Regions from separate parts of the Homo sapiens genome. Here all the other regions are linked to region 2. The links are contacts of gene promoters, found by promoter capture Hi-C in blood cells and fetal thymus (Javierre and others, 2016). All regions are on one chromosome and are shown on one strand. Each heading gives the region's core, a stretch centred on a gene start or on the middle of the fragment in contact. The rest is flanking DNA. Distances are from core to core; before and after follow the strand shown.

What was found. Contacts are between HindIII fragments. The CHiCAGO score rates a contact against its expected background, and 5 or more counts as called.
Region 1: a contact is called between a fragment that was not itself captured here and the fragment with the promoter of MYCBP2 in region 2, in 2 of 17 cell types (naive B cells and total B cells). The highest score is 5.8, in naive B cells.
Region 3: a contact is called between a fragment that was not itself captured here and the fragment with the promoter of MYCBP2 in region 2, in 5 of 17 cell types (M1 macrophages, total B cells, M0 macrophages and 2 more). The highest score is 9.3, in M1 macrophages.
Region 4: a fragment that was not itself captured here is called in contact with the fragment with the promoter of MYCBP2 in region 2 in 2 of 17 cell types (naive B cells and total B cells); the score reaches 5.7 in naive B cells.
Region 5: a contact is called between a fragment that was not itself captured here and the fragment with the promoter of MYCBP2 in region 2, in 3 of 17 cell types (activated CD4 T cells, total B cells and naive CD8 T cells). The highest score is 6.7, in activated CD4 T cells.
Region 6: a fragment that was not itself captured here is called in contact with the fragment with the promoter of MYCBP2 in region 2 in 2 of 17 cell types (naive B cells and activated CD4 T cells); the score reaches 7.0 in naive B cells.
Region 7: a fragment that was not itself captured here is called in contact with the fragment with the promoter of MYCBP2 in region 2 in 1 of 17 cell types (total B cells); the score reaches 5.9 in total B cells.

What each region holds. Positions count from the first base shown.
Region 1 is chr13:77,541,652-77,544,688 of GRCh38, reverse strand. All of the region lies in intron 1 of SCEL (sciellin), which reads right to left. Among named protein-coding and RNA genes, the nearest start is that of SCEL, 7.5 kb to the right of the region's middle. The HindIII fragment of the contact is 964 bases long and covers 1,204-2,167 here.
Region 2 is chr13:77,325,638-77,328,712 of GRCh38, reverse strand. It overlaps MYCBP2 (MYC binding protein 2), which reads left to right and starts at 1,619. Exons shown (of 83, transcript NM_015057.5): 1 at 1,619-2,239. The coding sequence starts at 1,938. LOC127898562 reads left to right here and starts at 1,725. Exons shown (of 1, transcript NM_001414702.1): 1 at 1,725-1,808. The coding sequence starts at 1,725. The coding sequence ends at 1,808. LOC107984564 (a long non-coding RNA gene) reads right to left here and starts at 1,668. Exons shown (of 2, transcript XR_001749930.2): 1 at 1,578-1,668; 2 at 515-1,449. RefSeq lists an enhancer at 1,140-1,469 and silencers at 1,660-2,039, 2,080-2,199. The HindIII fragment of the contact is 13,146 bases long and covers 415-3,075 here.
Region 3 is chr13:77,567,575-77,570,438 of GRCh38, reverse strand. SCEL (sciellin) reads right to left here. Exons shown (of 33, transcript NM_144777.3): 6 at 2,691-2,759; 7 at 2,106-2,144; 8 at 988-1,068. Among named protein-coding and RNA genes, the nearest start is that of SCEL, 33 kb to the right of the region's middle. The HindIII fragment of the contact is 952 bases long and covers 929-1,880 here.
Region 4 is chr13:77,521,681-77,524,380 of GRCh38, reverse strand. No RefSeq gene overlaps it. Among named protein-coding and RNA genes, the nearest start is that of SCEL, 13 kb to the left of the region's middle. The HindIII fragment of the contact is 4,999 bases long and covers 1-2,700 here.
Region 5 is chr13:77,098,639-77,101,466 of GRCh38, reverse strand. It overlaps MYCBP2 (MYC binding protein 2), which reads left to right. Exons shown (of 83, transcript NM_015057.5): 56 at 2,454-2,828. Among named protein-coding and RNA genes, the nearest start is that of MYCBP2-AS2, 19 kb to the right of the region's middle. The HindIII fragment of the contact is 1,081 bases long and covers 723-1,803 here.
Region 6 is chr13:77,115,367-77,118,066 of GRCh38, reverse strand. All of the region lies in intron 55 of MYCBP2 (MYC binding protein 2), which reads left to right. Among named protein-coding and RNA genes, the nearest start is that of MYCBP2-AS2, 36 kb to the right of the region's middle. RefSeq lists an enhancer at 1-119. The HindIII fragment of the contact is 3,073 bases long and covers 1-2,700 here.
Region 7 is chr13:77,135,228-77,138,098 of GRCh38, reverse strand. The region is part of intron 52 of MYCBP2 (MYC binding protein 2); the gene reads left to right. Among named protein-coding and RNA genes, the nearest start is that of MYCBP2-AS2, 55 kb to the right of the region's middle. The HindIII fragment of the contact is 7,593 bases long and covers 1-2,871 here.

The DNA.
Region 1 (3,037 bases), core at 436-2,935, 220 kb before region 2:
ACAGCACTTCCTCTGGGAGCATTTAGGTCCATTAGGTGACCCAATTGCCACTCCTCCCACCAGCCCAATCTGAGCCCCAGCTCCTCTTGTCCCAATGCCAAGAATTCCCTGAGCCAACTTTCACTTCAGTCCCCCAGCCTGATCTCAGCCCCAGCTCTTCCTGTCCCAGTGCCAAGAATTTCCTGGGCCAGTTCCCAGCTCAGCTAGAATCTTCATCATCTTTTGGGTCCTCTCAGCATAAAGACTTTAAAAATCTCACTCTTCCCTTCCCACCCAAGGACATAATGCCTCTTGGCTTACCTCACGAAGTCTTTACCACTCCCTGCTAACTTTCTCTTAAGAAAGATTGTGTGAACAAAGAAACTAAAATTGGTTAAAGAAGGGCTCATAGAGGAAAGAGAAAAGGAGAAATAAGGCAGAAAAGAAAAAAAGATGTGCAGCAGAAAGTAAATTAACACAATAAAGGATGATGGAAGAAAAGAGAAAAAAACAAGGACTTCAATTCTGACTGCTGAGATTTGGGGTCCTACAATAATAATAACTATTTTGAGCTTATATTTTATAGGTGTTGTCTCATTTAAGCCTTACATGCCTTTAGGTTGTTACTATTATTATACTTGTTCTTTAATGAAACTTAATGATGAATGGTTTCAGTGAAGTCAGAGTCTTCTTGCGGAAGGATAGGGCAGGAGTTGGAAATGTGGGCAGTGGTCGAAATGTAGGCAGATTTCTTTTCTGGAAGGAGTCTCAAGATGAGTAGTTTGCCTGAGGTTACATAACTAGTGAATCGCCCAGTTGGGATTCAAACTCAAATCAGCCTGACGCACAGTACCTATCTCAGAAGCCCGGGAAACAAAAAGGAGTCAACAGGAAGAAATTTACTCGACTAAAAAGTGGTAAATAAAAAAAGAACGAAATCATGTTCTTTGCAGCAACATGGATGCAGCTGGAGGTCATTATCCTAAGCGAATTAATGCAGAAACAGAAAACCAAATACCAAGTGTTTCCCCTTATAAGTGGGAACTAAACATTGGGTACTCATGGACATAAAGATGGCAACAATGGAGATCCATGGTGGAGCTCAACAGAGAAGAATTGGAGCAGACTTTCTTTGATCATTTTACCAAAGTATCATGAGATTTACATAGAGTGACATTTGGATATTTTAACTACCCCAAAATCTTTCAATCAATTTATCAAGCTTCTAATATATTTTTATAAATTACTATCTTTATAAAAGACCAAATGTCAATAGTTGCCCAGGGCAAATCTCTTTAGTGATGGAGAATATAAAAAAGCTAAAGTTGGCCGGGCGCGGTGGCTCACGCCTGTAGTCCCAGCACTTTGGGAGGCCGAGGCGGGCGGATCACGAGGTCAGGAGATCGAGACCATCCCGGCTAAAACGGTGAAACCCCGTCTCTACTAAAAATACAAAAAATTAGCCGGGCGTGGTGGTGGGCGCCTGTAGTCCCAGCTACTTGGGAGGCTGAGGCAGGAGAATGGCGTGAACCCGGGAGGCGGAGCTTGCAGTGAGCCGAGATCCCGCCACTGCACTCCAGCCTGGGCAACAGAGCGAGACTCCGTCTCAAAAAAAAAAAAAAAAAAAGCTAAAGTAGAATAAATAAACAAATACAGAAAAGGGGTCTAGAAAATGACACAGGGTGGCAAATTGCCCTGGTGGTATTCACTTTTGCTTCTGAAAAAGTCCTGAGGGTTTCAGGGTGCGGTAACAGTGCCAACCCCACCACTACTTGTTTCCCGGAAATCAATGAAACAGGGAAAATCCCTAGGAACTGGAAAAGGACAAATGCCATAAAACCATTTTCAGTAGAAGAATAAGAGGGGCTCTATAATTACAGATCAATAAACAGAAGAATTATCTTTTGGAAGATAAATAAAACAAACCATCAAACAACTAATTACCACCTAAAAGTACAAGAAATATATGTAAGGGGAAAACAAACAGTACTTCATGAAGTGTAAATATTAACAAGTCTATTTAAATCCATTTTTAAATAGTCTCTCAGAAACAAACAACTGTGTTTAGCCTGAATACACAGCCTAAAAGGAAATCCAAAAATCATCAGGCTGGGAAAGATTCATTTAGCCTTCTGTGATGGTTAGAAAGCAGCTATTTCTTCAGTCACACAACCTCACAATCTAAGCTTAGCATTGGGAAACTTGTTTACTGCTGGTGAAACAAGAGTCCAGAATGTAGCACAAATGAAAGCCCCTACCATACAATTTTCTCACTGTTGATTCTGGGGTTTGTTTGTTTGTTTGTTTGTTGAGACGGAATCTTGCTCTGTAGCCCAGGCTGGAGTGCAATGGCGTGATCTCGGCCACTGCAACCTCCACCTCCCGGGTTCAAGCTATTCTCCTGCCTCAGCCTCCTGAGTAGCTGGGATTACAGGCACGCACCACCATGCCTCTCTAATTTTTGTATTTTTAGTAGAGACGGGGTTTCACCATGTTGGTCAGGCTGGTCTCTAACTCCTGACCTCGTGATCCGCCTGCCTCGGCCTGATTCTGGTTTTTAATACACAACCCTCACCAGCTCTTTTTCTTACAGCCCATCTTTTCTGCAGAATGATAACAGCAAGCTTTAACATGAATAGTGGCCTATAATTATTTCATTTTACAAAAAACACTGGTCTAATATTCATTAATAAAAAAGCTATCCAATAAAAGTTATCTATCACCTGAGCCCCATCAGGGGCTATTTTCAGTTCTAGCTGAAAATACAAGTTAAATGAGTAAAAACTCAAATTTTGACCACAGACTATGAGCCAAAACCCTGTTAGTTATCTTAAATACTTTACTGTATTTCATATTCACAAAAGCTCTGTCATGTAGCTGTTCTGTATCCCAATTTTACACAACATAAATCTTTCTCACTATATTTAGAACATATGTGGAAATACAAGAAAGCATATATAAAATGTGGAAAATACAAGAAAGCATAAAGAAAGGAAAAAAAAATCAGACACCTTTAATCAATCACTGTAATTTTCTTCCAGGGTTTTTCTTTGCCCAT
Region 2 (3,075 bases), core at 370-2,869:
TGCTAGGTCTTGCAATAGTAATGGGCCCTCTCATTGCTTACCTGTCAGGCCTTAGAATTCTTAGAATTTAGCTGCCTCTACACCATTGTCTTGGTTCTCACTCCAGGGTTAGGGGCTGCCTGGTCAACACTGAGGTCTTTAACTGTGCTGAAGCATTAGGATAGAAATTTAGTCTAATAAATACTTACTGGATACCTACTACATGCAAAGTCCTGAAGTGGCTGAAGGAGACACAAAAGCAGCAAGCTCTGAAGGAACTTAGGTAAGGAAACAAGACAAATACAAAAACTTAACAGGGCTAATTACAGTACTAAAATACTATGATTCCACATGTCTTGTCCTTTGTTCCTATGTTTATCCCACTGCTAATTATCTTTAAAAAAACTAAATGAAATCCATCCATTATTTAAAGCTTCAGAAAAAAATGCATTGCTTTCAGCAACCTTCCACCCTAAAACTAGAATTAATTTACTTTCCTATTCCTTGTTGTTTGCACTTCTCAAACACTAAGGAGGATTTTTTAACATTTATTTTATTTTTTTTTAAGAGAAGGCCATCCGAAGAAGAGGCACAGATATAAGAACTAGTACATAGATGAAAGATACAGTACTGGGATGACAGAACTTATAAATTATTTTGTCAGGACTGTAAATTAGGAAACTCTTCAAATTGAGAGTCAAAGGATAAAACGTAGTAGGAATCAAAGTGCATTGGCACGTATATTTCTAGAGCATATACTTAGATGGGGTTCGTAGGTTAGCTTGGAACAAAGGACTGAGCAAATGTTACTTTTTTATAGACAACAACAAGATATGTGATGGATCTGACATTTTCAGACGCTATACAGTCTCCGTCACAATTATTGTTTCAGATCGCATTCAAGAATTATCTTTAAAAATGTAAGTTTGGGCAGAAAAAAATAAACCATTAAATGACCACTGCCAAGAGATAAAAGTGCACTCTTAGGTGAGTGAGGAGTCAATAAAAAAGAGTAATTTAAAAAATATTATTGCTCCGTTGAGAACAAGAATTTGGGAATGACTCTGGCTTGTGAATACTAGCCTATCTGTTATACTTTCACACACAAAATACTTTCACACACAAAAAAGAATGTGCTAGATTACTACCTGTCTTTGTAAGTAAAAGCTGTGTTAAACAAGCGTAAATCCTAATGACAAAAACCATATAAAATAAGATCGCTAAAGGCACTTCTAATTGGGATGGTTTTCTCTGCCTTAAACTCTGAATTAACCAGCACAATTCACAGTAAATCTTCCTGTTGGCAGCAGAGCCTTGGAGAAGAGGTAGCAGAAGAGCGTGCCACTCCTCCTCTGGCGATGGGCACGTTCCCCCTTGCTTTCTGGTCCTCGTTCTTCCACCTGGAGGGAACCTGAAGTCGAACGTCAGTAGCTGACAGCCTCCCCAGCACTTTCCTTACTCTTCTTCAAGCTGCCAGTAAAACCCGGAGAAGTGGACTACTTCAGATTCCGCACAACCCAACAGCCCCAAACCCAAAGCCCCGAGGCGGAGGGAGTGGTGGCGGAGAGGGGGTGGGGAGGAAAAGGGGCGGCAGTTACTGAGCATGTGCGAGGAGTGGCGCATGCTCTGTGAGGCCGGCAGCTTCCCATTGCGGGTAGCCCCGGCGGTGGTGGCGGTGGTAGCGGTGGTGGCGGCGGCAGTGGCGGCACCGCCTCCTCCTCACATTCCCGGGGTGGCGGGGTTAGATGAGCGGCCCCAGTAGCGGCGAGGGCGGCGCGGGGGGGAGGAGGAGAAGAAGGAGGAGGAGAAGGAGGTCGCTGTCTTTGTAGTCTCCCTGCTGCGGGAGCCAGAGGCCGCCGCCGGAGCCGTCGTCGTTGGAAAAGGGCTGTGTGTGCGCGCGCGTGTCTGCCCGCCCGGCCCGCGGGGACGAGGCGGCGGCGGCGGCGGCGGCGGCGAGGATGATGATGTGCGCAGCGACTGCCTCCCCCGCCGCCGCCTCCTCGGGGCTCGGCGGGGACGGATTCTACCCAGCCGCCACCTTCTCTTCCTCCCCGGCGCCGGGGGCGCTGTTCATGCCGGTTCCCGACGGCTCCGTGGCTGCTGCGGGGCTGGGGCTGGGGCTACCCGCCGCGGACTCCCGGGGTCACTACCAGCTGCTGCTGTCAGGCCGGGCCCTGGCCGACCGCTACCGGAGGATTTATACCGCTGCGCTCAATGACAGGGACCAGGGGGGCGGCAGCGCTGGACACCCAGCCTCCAGGTGCGTCCCCAGGGTGCCCTTCCTTGCGCCCCATGCCGCCCTTCCTTGCGCCCCATGCCGCGCGTGCACCCGCGTGTGTGTGTGCTTGCGTGTGTGTACCTGCGCATTTATTGAGCTTTCAGTCCGCTCTGGATGTCTGTTGGCAGGAGCACTTATCGAGATAGGAGGGTGCGGTGGCTGCAGTTTCTCGTGTGTGTGTGTGTGTGTGTGTGTGTGTGTGTGTGTGTGTGTGTCTGCCTGCCTATGTGGGGGGATAGTGAGGGGTGGTAGGGGAACCTGTGATGCTGGAAAAGGCGATGGTGCTGGTCGGCTGTGACACGTGTGTGTATCGTTGAGGTAGGAGGTGGCATGGGTAGAGAGGGTAAGAGGATGATACACGAAGAGAATTGCAACAGTGGCAAGGGAAGTGGCGTTTTCAGTGTCTCTGCCGCAATGTTATTTGCACGTGCCGCCTCTCCCATGACATTCCTTCCAGCCCTTTCCACCTCCCTTCAATCTGCCTTTCACCAAGAGGAGTCATGGTATAGATTGGTTGAGTTTTGGATAAGCAGGCCCGAGGGATAGGCGTGAGGTTTGCTTTAAAAAGATTTATGAATAAGGGACGCAGATGGAGATCTGTGTGGATGCGAAAGGTGTCTGATAGAGATTTTTAGAGCTGTACTTTGATAACCGGGCCTTTTGGTCTTCTAGAAATGAGGTTGCAGTTACTCTTGTGATCTGATGTCCCATCGGCCATTTCTCTTCATCCTCTGTTCGATTTCCTCTGTTACTTACAGGCTTTAGAGTAGAGAGGGTTTTGTAGGGAAAAGGGGAAAACTGCAGAACTTCAGAATATG
Region 3 (2,864 bases), core at 155-2,654, 240 kb before region 2:
ATTATGCCCAAAATGTCGGAGGAAAGATTCTTGCACTAGATAGGAGATGGAACTGACTGACCTAAAATTTCTCTTTCAAACTTAGGAATCTGTTTTTACTAGGCAAAGGGTCAAGGGACATGAAATTTGGGTTCAATGGAAAGATGAATCACATTTTCTAAGACTTTGCAGCTACAGCCAGAATTTTGTTGAAGGAAAAAACAGAATCAGTCATTTTTCTCCAGCAGCACCATGGCAAAGTCAGCCAGTCCATCAACAAACATTGAGCACCTACCCTGTACAGAGCATGGACCCAGGTACAGACAGGGAAATTGAGAAAATTTAAAAGCACTGATGTTTGTAAATGCTTGTTTTCCATTTGCATCACAATTCATAGCCCTGGGGTTTTTTCAACATGCAAACATCTCTTTCACCATCATGTTCTGTCTCATGAAGAATATTTGGTCACCATTGGTCCAACTACTCCTCTGTACCTGCTAATTACATAGGACTCAGCACCAGCAGAATGTGGGAGACCATGCAGAGGAGGTCGGTGGAGGAGGCAAGAACCAAACAAATACAGATGGATGTCTCCAGAAAGGGTCTTTGACTCTGCATTTGGAAGCAAGGCCAGCCCAATCCACAGAGCAGAGGCGGCATCTCCAGATACAGGCCGGTTTCAGGAGCATGGCAGCATGTGGCCCTACATTCATCATTATTTCAGGTTAAGGCATTCCCAGCAGCAGGACTCCATGAAACATGCTACCTCAAGTAGTCTGTCATTTAACATGCGAGCTCTATCATCTAAAACATTTCCTAGAAATTCAAGGCCCTACAGGAATTGAAAACAAGACTCTATATTTGAGAAAGAGATTGCTGGGGGAAAGAGCTGAAGTTTGGGAACAGCAGAATGTAGATGCTGGATCCCCACAAAAAAGAGGAGGAAGCTTTCTAATGCAGTCTTTCATAGTGTATCAGCAAGAGGTAGACACAGTGAGTTCATCCTACCTCTTCTTCTTTACAGGAGTAGTAGCAGAAGTGGATGCTATGGTGTTGGAGGTGTTGGCATTCAATGAACCGCCAGGTTGCCTGTTTAATGACAAGAACAACAATTAATCCCACTCTCAAACTTTTTCATTTCAGCCTACCTTTGAAAAGTCTTAAATTCTACTCATATTCCTGCCTGCTCTCTGTTCATAAAATGTTTCACTTGGGGATAGAAAAACAGCCAAAAATCTTCTTCCTTAGTTGACATATTTTAGAAGTTGTCAGGTTCTCATAGAACTAGCTAAAACTAAAGGAATAGAATAAAGAAGTGATTCATAAAATGACATTAACTGTCGGAAATTCAGACAAATCAATTCTGGCGTGCTACAGATTCACATTTCTTTTATTCCTGTGATTATATTGTGACTAACTAATTATGTTGCGGTTTTTTGCATTAGAAGCATTATTGCTTAATAAAAAATTTTAAATCATACCATCTTAAGTCTCTATCTGGCATTTATTCATATATGCAGAGCCTCAAAAATGGAAGTGACCCAGGCCCATTTCAAGCACTGAGAGGTGTGATCCAGTGTATAAATTACTTTATACATAAATAGGAATTCAAAAATAAAGTAAGTTTATAAATCTGTCTGATTTGGGCTGCTTATAACCATCAGTAGTACATTCCAGGGAAAATGTGTTCCATTTAAATAGATTTTTAGCTCACCCCATGTTTTCCCAATTCAATTTTCTCTGAAGGAGGAGGCATAGATGTGAAGGGTGGGTGGGGAAGGAAGTGAGGTGTGGAGGAAGGGTTAATTATTGTGAGAGTAGAGGGAAGAAAAGTCCTGTAGGGGAAAAAATAAGGAGTCTAGATTTTAATAAAGAAGAAGAAAGAAAGGATGATCTAAGCTTTGGTGTTTGGATAGAGTAATGATTGGCAATCTTTTTTTTCTGCAAAAGTCCAGATAGTCACATTTGAACCTTTACAGACCATTTTGGTATTGTCTTCTACTACTCAACTCTGCCAGAGCAATAGGGGCATGGCTGTATTCCAATAAAATTGGCCTGAGGTGGTTTTCCCTGGTTTTTCTTGAATACATAAAAAGAAATATACTACAATTAGAAAGAATACATACAACTTTGTTACTTCCAGTGATCTAAACATGGACATGCTCCTGGTAAGAGAGAAAGAAAGCAAAGTTTGAACAATGAAGAATGAACATTTGCATCTATTTGGAATTATTCCTGAATTTAGAGTTTTAAAAGTTAGACACTGGTGAGAGAAAGAAATAGAAAGCATCATATTTTAATAAATTTCATAAGATGATTTCATGATTTTGTCTCTTGTACTAGATTCCAAAGAATTTTTTTTCTTCTGAAAATTTAGTATCTTTTAAGCCCAATATTTTTATTTGTTGGGTTCAGTAATTTTCCTTAACAATAATAATGTAAAATTTGCATTTGCACCTATTTCATAATTTTGCCACCAGGACAACTTAAACAGAAACATAAATGTGGTAAGAATGGTGATTTGGAGCTACAAGTGCTCTTGATTCTTAAGCTAAACAACAAGGTTTTATTCTAGCCATGAACAGGAGTAATGATAGAGACTAAGAATTTACAGAAAGATATCAAGTAGGATTGAAGAATTGCAAGTACATAGGTAACACTTAGAAAAATATTATACTTGAGCCTTTCCCATAGTTAGTAGATACTGGTACCTATTGGTTAGTTGGTTATCCAAGGTATTGGCCTTATATGTTTTAGCAGCATCATTTCTGTCTGAGATCCTTTATAAAGAAACAAGACAAAAGTCTGGATAAATATTTAAATTATCAAACTCCTTTCAGACCATTTTCATGCTAGAATAGCTTAACAACATAGCCTTTCTCTAG
Region 4 (2,700 bases), core at 149-2,648, 200 kb before region 2:
TTGTTTCATCCATGAAGAAACTGAGATTCAGAAAGGTTAAGCCACATGTCAATTTCACAGCAGGCAAATGGTACAGGAAGAGGCCAAGGCTTTGAACCCTCTGCTTCTTGCCACCTCCACTGCTGCTGGTGCTTCTGCTGCAACACTCTTACCAGCCTACTTTCCATTGGATGCTATTCCATGGTCCTCTTAAGAAGCCTTGTCATGGTAGCATGTGTTTTTTTTTTTTCTGTGTTTAGAAGTTAATACTGGAGTTCTCACCATTTCATCTGCCCTACAGTGTCATGGGTAGAATTTTTCCTCTCAGAAACACTCACAAAACCTGACTTGTTTAGCCAGTCTAACCATAATTCTGCAATACAGAAACAGGGAGTAGTCCTTAACTTACACACCCATGGCCAACCCCATGTAGAAAGGCTGGGAAATTGAATTGTTTGATCTTTACTTATGCAACTACACTAGCCTGAAAAGACCCAGAACCACAGGGCATAAGGAAAGTTGGTTGACTTGATGCCCCCTCCTACACTGTCAGACTCCTGGAGAAGCTCTGTGATTCATTCCAGTGCAGGTCTTCAGAATAAAAGACTGAAATTTCCTTTCGTTCACAGCCAAAATGTGTGATTATCTTAGAAAACTGGGCCTTCCTGGCACCCCCAACATTGCACTACATGAACCTCCCCACACACTTCACCCATCTTGCTTTCCCATAAACCCTGTCAAATGAGTAGGTGTAGAAATGTAGAAAGCAATACAGACACATGCAGTACATGCTACTTTCCTAAATTGATGTATTTCCTTATGAAGGCTTGTCAAGTGTCACAACTTAAGTCTCACCATTAAAAGAAAAAGCCATCACAGGCGAAATGGCAAATTGTGAGCTGAAACAAATTTTTCTAAATTGATGCGCTCATGTCACAGAATCAAATATTATTCTTCCTGTATCCTACATGGGAATGTAAGCCACTTTTACATGCGCATTTACTTAAGGAAAGGTTGTGTTGTCCACACACTATTATATTCATCTTCAACTACAGAAAAGGGCATACATAAAGTGCATTATCCTCAATCACTAATATCCATAAGCAGATATTCCCTCTCTGCCTTTCCTTTTCCAACCAAGGTCTATTTTACATCTGTTGAAATAGATGGGTTCCAAATTAAAAAAAAAATATTAAGTAGGAGGAAATTTCTGTCTTACAGCAAAAGTAATCCCCAGTAGGTTTCTGATGAAGCAACTTTATAAGATCTATTGTCCTTGACTCTTTCTTCCAAATCTTTATTTCTCCCAACAGTAATGGAATGAAAATGAAATGAAAAATCTGGAGTCAAGCTGGGTAAAAAAAACCCCATAGGAGTCTCTACTGAAGTAAGACAAGGCTCAATTAGTGAAGCGATGGGTCATACAGTCAAATCAGCAGCTTTACTATTCACAACAGCAAAGACATGGAATCAACCTAAATGCCCATCAATGATAGACTGGATAAAGATAATGTGGTATATATACACCACGGAATACTATGCAGCCATAAAAAGGAAGGAGATCATGTCCTTTGCAGGGGCATGGATGGAGCTGTAGGCCATTATCCTTAGCAAACACAGGAACAGAAAACCAAATACTGCATGTTCTCACTTGTAAGCAGGAGCTGAACAATGAGAACACGTGGACACATGTGAGGGAAAAACACACATTGGTGCCTGTCAGAAGATTGCGGGTGGGAGGAAGGAGAGGAACAGAAAGAATAGCTAGTGGATGCCAGGCTTAATACCTGGGTGACAGGACAATATGTGCAGTAAACCACCCTGGCACATGTTTACCTAGGTAACAAACCTGTACATCCTGCACATGTACTGGCCAACAGGCTGTGGGACTTTTTCAGGTGCTACTTGAGTTGACTGCAGAAATTTCTAGAAACAGCGCCAATATATTTCACTGATTTCACAGAGGTAAATCAAGAAAGGTTAAAAATTATGTTGGTGAAGTCATTTTCTGTAAACAAACAAACATTTAAAAACTGCAACAAAAAAATTATCATCCAGAAAGCCTCAGCAAAGCACTTCAGATACCTCTGGGCAAATTCCTAACCATAGTAAACAAATTCTAATGTTCCACCTAGAGATTTGACTGCCCTTTGCGTAGCTGGGCAGCTTCCTGGGTCTCTCCAGGAAGGTATGCAGCACACCCAGTGGGCTGACCCACCCTTCACAGCCAAACCTGACAAGGCTGAGCAAATACACTTTCAAGGCAAAAACATTCTTTAGGGATTGTGCAAAGGAATTTGGCAGCTGTGTCTTCCCCAGGAAGTGTGGCATTAAGAACAAGTTCCTCAGTTGGGGGCATAGGATCATCCACAAAGTAGAAACCACTATTAAATTGTATTTACCCAGAAATCCACATTTACATTAAAATGCCTGTAGCCTACCTTCCTCTGCTACTTTAAGATATTAAAAAAGAAGTCACTTAATACCGAACCAAGTAAAGTATGGAACTAATACAGGATACTTTGCATAAATATCTTTTCTGCTTCTCTCTTTTCTTCCTTCCTCTCCCGTGAAGCAGATGCTGGCATTCACAGTGCAGCCCAGGAACCCAGTAAGAATGACTCAAGTATCTCCTTCATGCTAGGAGGGATGATAGGCTTCAGCCCAGAACAGAGCTTCCAATAGGGTTCTTTTTCAATCCTACAAGTCACTGTGAGCAGA
Region 5 (2,828 bases), core at 14-2,513, 230 kb after region 2:
GTTTTCATGATGAGTAAATAACCTACCATTGTAAGTTCATATGCATTCCTAGAATAGAGGTAGCATCAGCAGGTATTCACCATTCCTTTGCATGCAGCTGTTGTGCAGGTCAACCACTAAGACACATCTGACACAGGGAGTAGGTAATCTTTGTCACGAACCCTTCCTATTTGTTAGAAATCCTACACAAGTTGTCCTTTTTTATAAATTAGAGAGAAAACCTCTTTCAGTTTACAGATGGATTTTTTGGAGAAAGGGATACCAAATATAAAAGACTTACTAATTGTTTGTCTAGATTCCCATTATGTGTGGTTCAGTTTCTGAAATAAATGTGATGATAAAGGTGATAAACATGTCTCCAGCTGTCAGATTAATAACAAAAAACAAGTATTCCAAACATCACATACTCAAAATTAATGGCCATGACTACTGATTTAATCTACCAAATATAATTTGTTTACCAAATTTGCCATATGCTGTTACTAGGTCAGTAAGATTAGATGGGTAGCAATTTTTTGAACTACTTTTGAACAGTTTAAGGGTACTTATTCATAGATCACATCTGTTTATCTGTGCTCTCCCAAGACAGCATTGATAGTTAGAATTCTAAATTGGGATTTTTTTAACCCTTTTTTCAAAACTTAGCCCCATCTGTTAATACTGTATTTATAAAACAGAGCACATAATATGATAAAGGAGGTTAATGATTGAATAATGAAGCTTTGCAAGAAACTAAAAAGCATTATGTTTTAGTTACTTTTATTCATCCAAAGAACAGGAAAAATTATCTTAAATATTGGCATGTTGCAATTAAACATTTAGTTCATCAGTGTGCCCTGTATAAAGTACTTGCCATACTCTATTATTTCACCATGTAATTACTCAGTTTGCAAGCATCTAACCCTTGCACATCAATAACTAATGTCACCTCTGTCCTGTGGCCTTGGGAGCCTTAATTGTAAAAAGTAGACTTCTGGAGAAGCTGAATACTTGGGAGTAGCAGAAGAAAAAAATCAAGAAAATTGGAATATATTACTCATTCAACACATATTTATTGAATACCTACTGTATTCCTGGATTCATTCTTGGTATTACATCAGTGAAGAGTAACAGACAAAAATACCTGCCCTTGACAAAGACTGGGGCAGATTCTCCAGCACTACTGTCCTGAGCCATAGAGAAATAGAGCGTGACTATACACACTTAACACATGCACGGAAGCATAAAAAACATTTTCCTACATCATCTGAATTTGTTCACATCCTTTTTTCTTTTAAAAAATAATAACATGCAGTTATAGCCAGTTAACAAATCTACCTTAATTTCCTAGGAACTGTCTTTGAAAAAATATAAATACTTCCAGATAGGTTTATGGATTTTCAGTTTTTTATACCACTTGAAACCCTTCAGTCAGATTGCTTTTCTCCTAACAACTAACTGGTATCACTTGCACTAAGAGTAGAAGTTTTTATTTTAAGGAGGAAAGGTGATGTTGAAGTTTGTACCATTTACTTGGGTCACAGACAGCCTGGCTCTAATGCCTCAAAGAAAAGCATAAAATAGAATGAAGGAGAGACACTGAATGAAGGCAGGGTGCTAAAAACAATTAATGTCCATGCAGAAACATCTAATGCTTTGCCTTAGAAAAGGGAGGTGATTCTTCTTTTCATCCTGTTTTTCTGTCATTCTCCTGACTCCTTGTTTTGAGGGTCCACAGTTCAGACTTTTACCACTCATTCTGAGGATCCACCGTTTCTGTGGTTTCCAAGGGAACACAGGCTCTGAGTTCTAAGCAGCTAAGCTTCCTGAACTTTTGGAGTGTAACCTGTTTATAAATAATTAAATAACAGCTTCAGGGCATTCATGTGCTCATTGTAAACTAGTCTAATCTGATCATAAAACAGAGTGCCTCTTAAGCAACTCTTTGTTAGCCTAATTGTATGCATACACTTAAAAATTATAATTGTGTCTATGCATAAATTCAGTTCTCTAATTCAACAAAACCCATACCGTTGCCCTAAGGATGCGAGGTATCACTCTGCTGGAAATTTAGCTCTACTCTACATTTAAAATACAAGTTTTCACATTAAATAATTTCTTATTCCCCAAAAGATTAATTTCTGTCTCTTTCTAGTCCCTCACTGAATTTAAATTCTAACTAGTTATTGCACTAGGGCAGAGGTTGAGATATCACTGATAGTTCACACTGGATTTGTTCAACCTGTTGTTTTGCGTCCATGAAAATAGTTTTTGGTGGTAATGTTGTGTAATGATGTGTAGAAATTTTATTAGAAATATTTCCCCCTTCTTTCCTTTATTCTTCAAGTATTTTAGTATGTATGACAAACAATATAAATTTTGTAGCTATGTTTTTTTATTTCAGTGTTTAGTGGCTAAATTATCAGTAAGTTATAATTTTATTAATAAGTTTCACTGTAAAATGGACCATACAGGTGATCGAGGAAACATCTCAACATCTTCTAAACCAGCCTCTACATCAGGAAAATCAGAGCTGTCCTCTAAACACAGCAGATCGCTTAAACCTGATGGACGTATGAGCCGGACTACTGCTGATCAGAAGAAGCCAAGGGGCACAGAAAGTTTATCTGCTAGTGAATCCCTCATCTTAAAATCTGATGCTGCAAAGTTGAGGTCAGATTCCCACAGTAGGTCATTATCCCCCAACCATAACACCTTGCAGACATTGAAATCTGATGGGAGGATGCCTTCTAGCTCCAGAGCTGAATCCCCAGGACCAGGTTCTCGGTTGTCATCTCCTAAGCCAAAGACTCTCCCAGCCAATAGGTCTAGCCCATCGGGTGCTAGTT
Region 6 (2,700 bases), core at 60-2,559, 210 kb after region 2:
CAAAAGGATAAAGCCATTTCACTCTTATCAGTGGGTAGAAGAGAGACTGTACTTGTTTGGACAGGTTTGTTTGTTTTTTCTAAGTGAATTTGGTATCTATGAAATGTATGACAATTTAGTTTTCCCGGTTTTCTCAAATTGTTGTTTCCTGTCTTTATTTTTATTTTTTTGTTGTTGTTCCTAATATGTTAAATTGATCATTTGATTCCAGTTCTGTCTTTTAGGATTGCTCTAGTCCTTCATTCATGATAGTAATTCACATTGGTTTGGAAAAGATACCCAAAAAAATTATACTTAACTGAGTGTTCTTTTTTCTTAATAACCTCCTGAACCTTCCACCTAAACTTTTCAAAGCTCTGTCCAGTATGACAACAGTGTGTTCTTCTTGGCATTCAGTTCTCATGTTGGCTATACAATATATAAACACATTAATTGAATGAGCTAGTTTATGAAAGTTTCAGCTTGTATACCATTTTTCGGATTCAAATGCACAACCTCTTTGCTTTGGTAAAGTACATTCACACTTAGGTCTAAGTTATTTGTTTACAAAAATACTTTAATAACTGTTATTAGGGTCATGTAAAAGAATGCTAGCTGGTTTAGTTTTTATTAAAAACTAGGTTAGTATGTAGCTAGCAAATGATATTATTCATTACTTTATCCACCTTAGGTAAAGGGTACACAAGAGTATAAACTTTTCTGGGTTTCCACTATCCATTAGGAAAGTTTAATTGATGAAATTAATTAGTTTGGAAATATAAGTACTATCAATTTCTAGCTTATCATGTTCGTTCATGTATAATATTAATTTGAATGTCTATTAAGAGAAGAATTTCAAAGAAACAAAATAGTGTCACATGTGCGAAATAGTTTTTTCCTTCTATGATAAATATTATTTTAGAAGAATGAAACAGAAGTGAGGAGTTAGTTTATTAATTTTGTGTTGCATCAGACTTTTTACATTTAGAAGTACTACTTAGGTTTCAAGAAGTTTTAAAGGTAAGGACAAAGGGAAAAACAAAGGAAAAATATCAGGATCAGTCAGGTAGAAAATTTATACTAGAAAATTTAAATTCATTCATATTCAAATTCAGTTTTAAATGAAAAATTGCCTGTGTCATAGCAGTAGCAGACAAAAGAACTAAGGAGAAAGGAGAACCTTTTTGTTCTAGCTAAAGAATCATTGCAAGTCTTTACAAAAACAAGCATAATTACCATTTTAATTTTACCAAATTTAATTAATAAAATATTTCAAAACAATAAACAGTAATAAAAGTTGATTTGTCTCTTCCAGGGAATAACAGTTTCTAGGTGACATTGTGTCAATATAATTTTATGCATATGTGTTATCAGTACCACCACTTTATTTACCACTATCTTGAAGCAAATTTGAAATCATGGCTTAGCTATGTTTCAATTAGCAATTTTCTGAATCATTACTTGCCTATAGTCCAGCAATGGAAATTACTTAGGTCTTGTTTTAAACTTCTTATTCGCAACAGGACGTCTCTAAATTTTGACTTCCAAATTCCAGAAAATGGAAGTCTTAATCTTTAGCATCACAAAAAAAAGTATGGAATCTGAAAATAGTTTTAATTTTTTAAAATAATTCAGAATTGTATTTTTTATACCGTGTTGGGAAAGGTAAATGTGGCAAAGTGCCAACATTTAAGACTCCCCAAGCAAGGTATTCTTCCCTGAACCTCACTACCATGTATCCCACTAGTATATCACCTATGCTTTAGAAGATGGCTTATTCTTAGTGAACTTCCCTATGCTATTTAGTAAAATGAGATTTATTTTTGTTTTATACCTTTGTGATACTAAATAAATCATTATGTAGAAGACCATATTTACTCAACTTTGTTTATACTGATAGTCGCCACTATGTAGTAAACACTGTACTTAAGCACTTTGATACAGCCTCATTTGAGATACTGTCTCTTATGTCTGTTTTACAGAGAAGGAAACATAGGCTTAGAGAGGATAAATGATTTGCCCCAGAAACATACATAGTAAAATGGTAGAGCCAGAACTTGAGGTCAATTCTGTTGACTACAAAGGCTATTTTAAATATTCAGCCTTACCTCGGTAAATAATGCAAAATCTACTTTAATATATATATATTTTTAATTTATATTTAAACTAGGTCTGGCATCTAGAGTATTAGCTTTGTTCAGATTGATTATTTTTCTTTTTATAGTTTGACTTTTTTTAATGTAACAGTAGTTTGAATGGAAAAAAAGATTTCCTGAATGTCATAACTCAAGATCCTGGTTAACTAGAAAAATTCTACAAAGACACACATCAACCGGTGCATGGTTTAACTTCATCTAGCATTTCTATGAGCATTATTATCTGTAATTCTTTGGTTTTTTTTTTCCGAATCATAGTTTTTACACCTATCTTTGGAAATTTGAAAATAATCTGGCACATTAAGTTAATTTTTGATACCTTTTCTTTAGAATCAGGCAACATTTTATTCCATAAAATAGAATATTTGGTAATTTTTAAATTAGCAAAATTATTTGATTTTATATACGTAGAAATTATTTCAAGTGTTATTCTAGTGAAGTAGAATGTTATAGAAGTAAAAGTTAACAAATTTCCCTTGTCTTATGTGTGTGCACACAGAGACATGAAAAAGAAAAGTATGTATATAGAATTTTCTTTACTGTTCTACAATTTACTTTTTAATTT
Region 7 (2,871 bases), core at 273-2,772, 190 kb after region 2:
CTAAATTTTAAATTAAAAAATTACATCAATTACGTCTTATTAAATTTTCCTCAGATTTATACCTGCAGTTAAAAATAAAAAGGATTTTGACCCTCTATGAAAGTGTATTTTAAAGAGATAATTATAGCAACCACTTTTGTACAGTTTTTTTTTCCAATATAGACTTTTTTGTTGGGCAAGGGGGAGTTGGTTTTTGTTTTTTATACAGATGGGAGAGCCAGGCGAGGTGGCTCACGCCTGTAATCCCAGCACTTTTGGAAGCCAAGGCCAGTGGATCACCTGAGGTCAGGAGACCAGCCTGGCCAACATGGTGAAACCCCGTCTCTACTAAAAATGCAAAAAATTAGCCAGGTGTGGTGGCGGGCACCTGTAATCCTAGCTACTCTGGAGGCTGAAGCGGGAGAATCGCTGGAACTCAGGAGGTGGAGGTTGCAGTGATTCAAGATCACGCCACTGCACTCCAGCCTGGGAGACAGAGCGAATCTCTGTCTCAAAAAAAACACAAAAATATAGAGATGGGGTCTCACTATGTTGCCCAGGCTGGTCTCAAACTCCTGAGCTCAAGCGATCATCTTACCTTGGCCTCACAAAGTGCTCATATTACAGGCATGAGCTACCACACCTGGCCATTGTGTGTTTTATTTAAGAAAATTTTCTTAAGTCCCTAATAAAATGTTATTCCAGATTATATTATCTTTTCTACCTTCCTAGTCCAAATTTTCTCTGATTTCTTTGCTCATTTGAGGAGCTGCTTTTGGGAGAGAAAGATACTCACACAGATAAAGCAAGTCAATAAACAAAAGTAGAAAGGAAGAGCAAGAAGTACCATCTGTCACAATTCTGAATCCCACGATTTTATTTTAAAGCATTGTGTTCTGTTACTTGATGCTTTTGAACCCCATCCAAGAGACAATCTGTAGTAGACAGTCTCCTTAAGGTCAGGGAAAGAAGGGAGTAACAAAGGTTAGAGGAGCGGTAAGGAGTGGAGTGAGGCATACAGATACTTGTGGGTGGTTTTCACTGGAATGTGAGTGCGGAGGTTGTTAATGTAAACAGCTCAAGAGTGTCTGGTATTGTTAGGAAGCTAGGGTTTTTTTGGTTTCTTCATTTTAAGAGTAGTAGTGACTTGAGAGTTTTATAAGTTAAAAGAAAGATACTAGTAGAAAAAGGGAGAAATTAAAGATATAGATGACAAGACTGAAGACTGAGAAACAGGAGGAGGAAATGGAATTAAGGGCACCTTAGAGAGCTTGCTTCTGTAAAAGAGAGGGGAATATGCATGGCAGTAGTTATGTTTTAGAGGAGGGAGGGACGAAGGGAAGAGGTTGAGGGAGACTACAAGTTCCCTTAAAATAGAAGATAGGAAAACGATCAGTTCAGAATCAAAAGAATGAGTTAAGTTAGGGGGTTGAGAAATGCAATGAATATTTGAAATATTGTTTGAAGGATTACTGGGCCACTAAAGACTCAATGAGACCACTGTATAGACCCAACTGGAATCCCCTGCCTAGTCCTTTATTGCCCTAAGTGTCTGGAATTAAAAGAGCCAAGAAAGAGCCAAGAAAGCAAATTATAGTACTAGTTGCTGAGCTGCTGTGACAGAAATAGCAATTAAGATTATCAGTTCTGGGAATGTGGACTCAGACCTAAGTTAGAAATGTGAAAGGACAAATGGAAGGTCCAAGGGATTTAGAAGATTTAATAAAATCCTAGAACAATATAGTGAATGCACTATAGTTAAAGAGTTGGAAAAATGCAGGCAATAAAGTAGAATATTTGTATTTGATATCATAGGTAGGGCACTTTAACAAATGAGATACTCTATTACATTGCCATGGGAGGGTGGCTGAAGTGCAGTGCACGTGGAAGTCACTACAAGTGCCTAAGTCTAGGAACTAAGAAGTTAGGCAGGTGGAAGATCATCTGCATGGACTTGAAGACACACAGATGATGTGACTCACAAAGTTAAAGATAAAAACAGGCTGGGCACGGTGGCTCACGCCTATTATGCCAGCACTTTGGGAGGCCAAGACGGGTGGATCACAAGGTTAGCAGTTCAAGATGGTGAAATCCTGTCTCTACTAAAAATACAAAAATTAGCCAGGCGTGGTGGTGGACGCCTATAGTCCCAGCTACTCAGGAGGCTGAGGCAGAGAATTGCTTGAACCCAGGAGGCAGAGGTTGCAGTGAGCTGAGATCACACCACTGCACTCCAGCCTGGGTGACAGAGTGAGACTCCGTCTCAAAAAAAAAAAAGAAAAAAAAGATAAAAACAATGTGTTTACCATTGGAGGAAGGGGTCCATAAGACACAATTTAAAGTCATGGGGGGATGGGAATAGTTTGGATCAGGAAGAAACAGAGCAGTTTGGTATAAAAATGAAAGAACAGGTAGATGACATAAGGATTTATGTTTTGGGTGGTGATCAAAGATGACAGATGGGGTACAGTATGGCAAAATTAATTGGCATAGGGCTCTAAACAGATCTGGGATAAAGTTACTTCAGTACAGGTATTAACTGAGGACTCATACAGAGTCAGAGGCCTGGCATAGGCAGGGACAGGTATGATTTTCTGTAGGGACTAGGGCAGACCCCTTACGCAGTCAGTACATTTTTTTTATGAGTATCTGACTGTGCAGGGCTAAACATGGTAGGACATAGAATAATGATTCCCTCTCATCTTCTCAAGGAAATAACACACCTAAATAGTTGCATCTTGCTGCCTCTTCTTTTGTATGTCTTATACATTTACTGCTGGAAAAACTATCTTTCTCCCTTCTTACTTCAGTTCGTTTAAAGTAAATGAACTTTAATCATGGCTGTTAATTGTAAAACATGACTCAATAAAAAAATGAAAGCTGGGAGATATG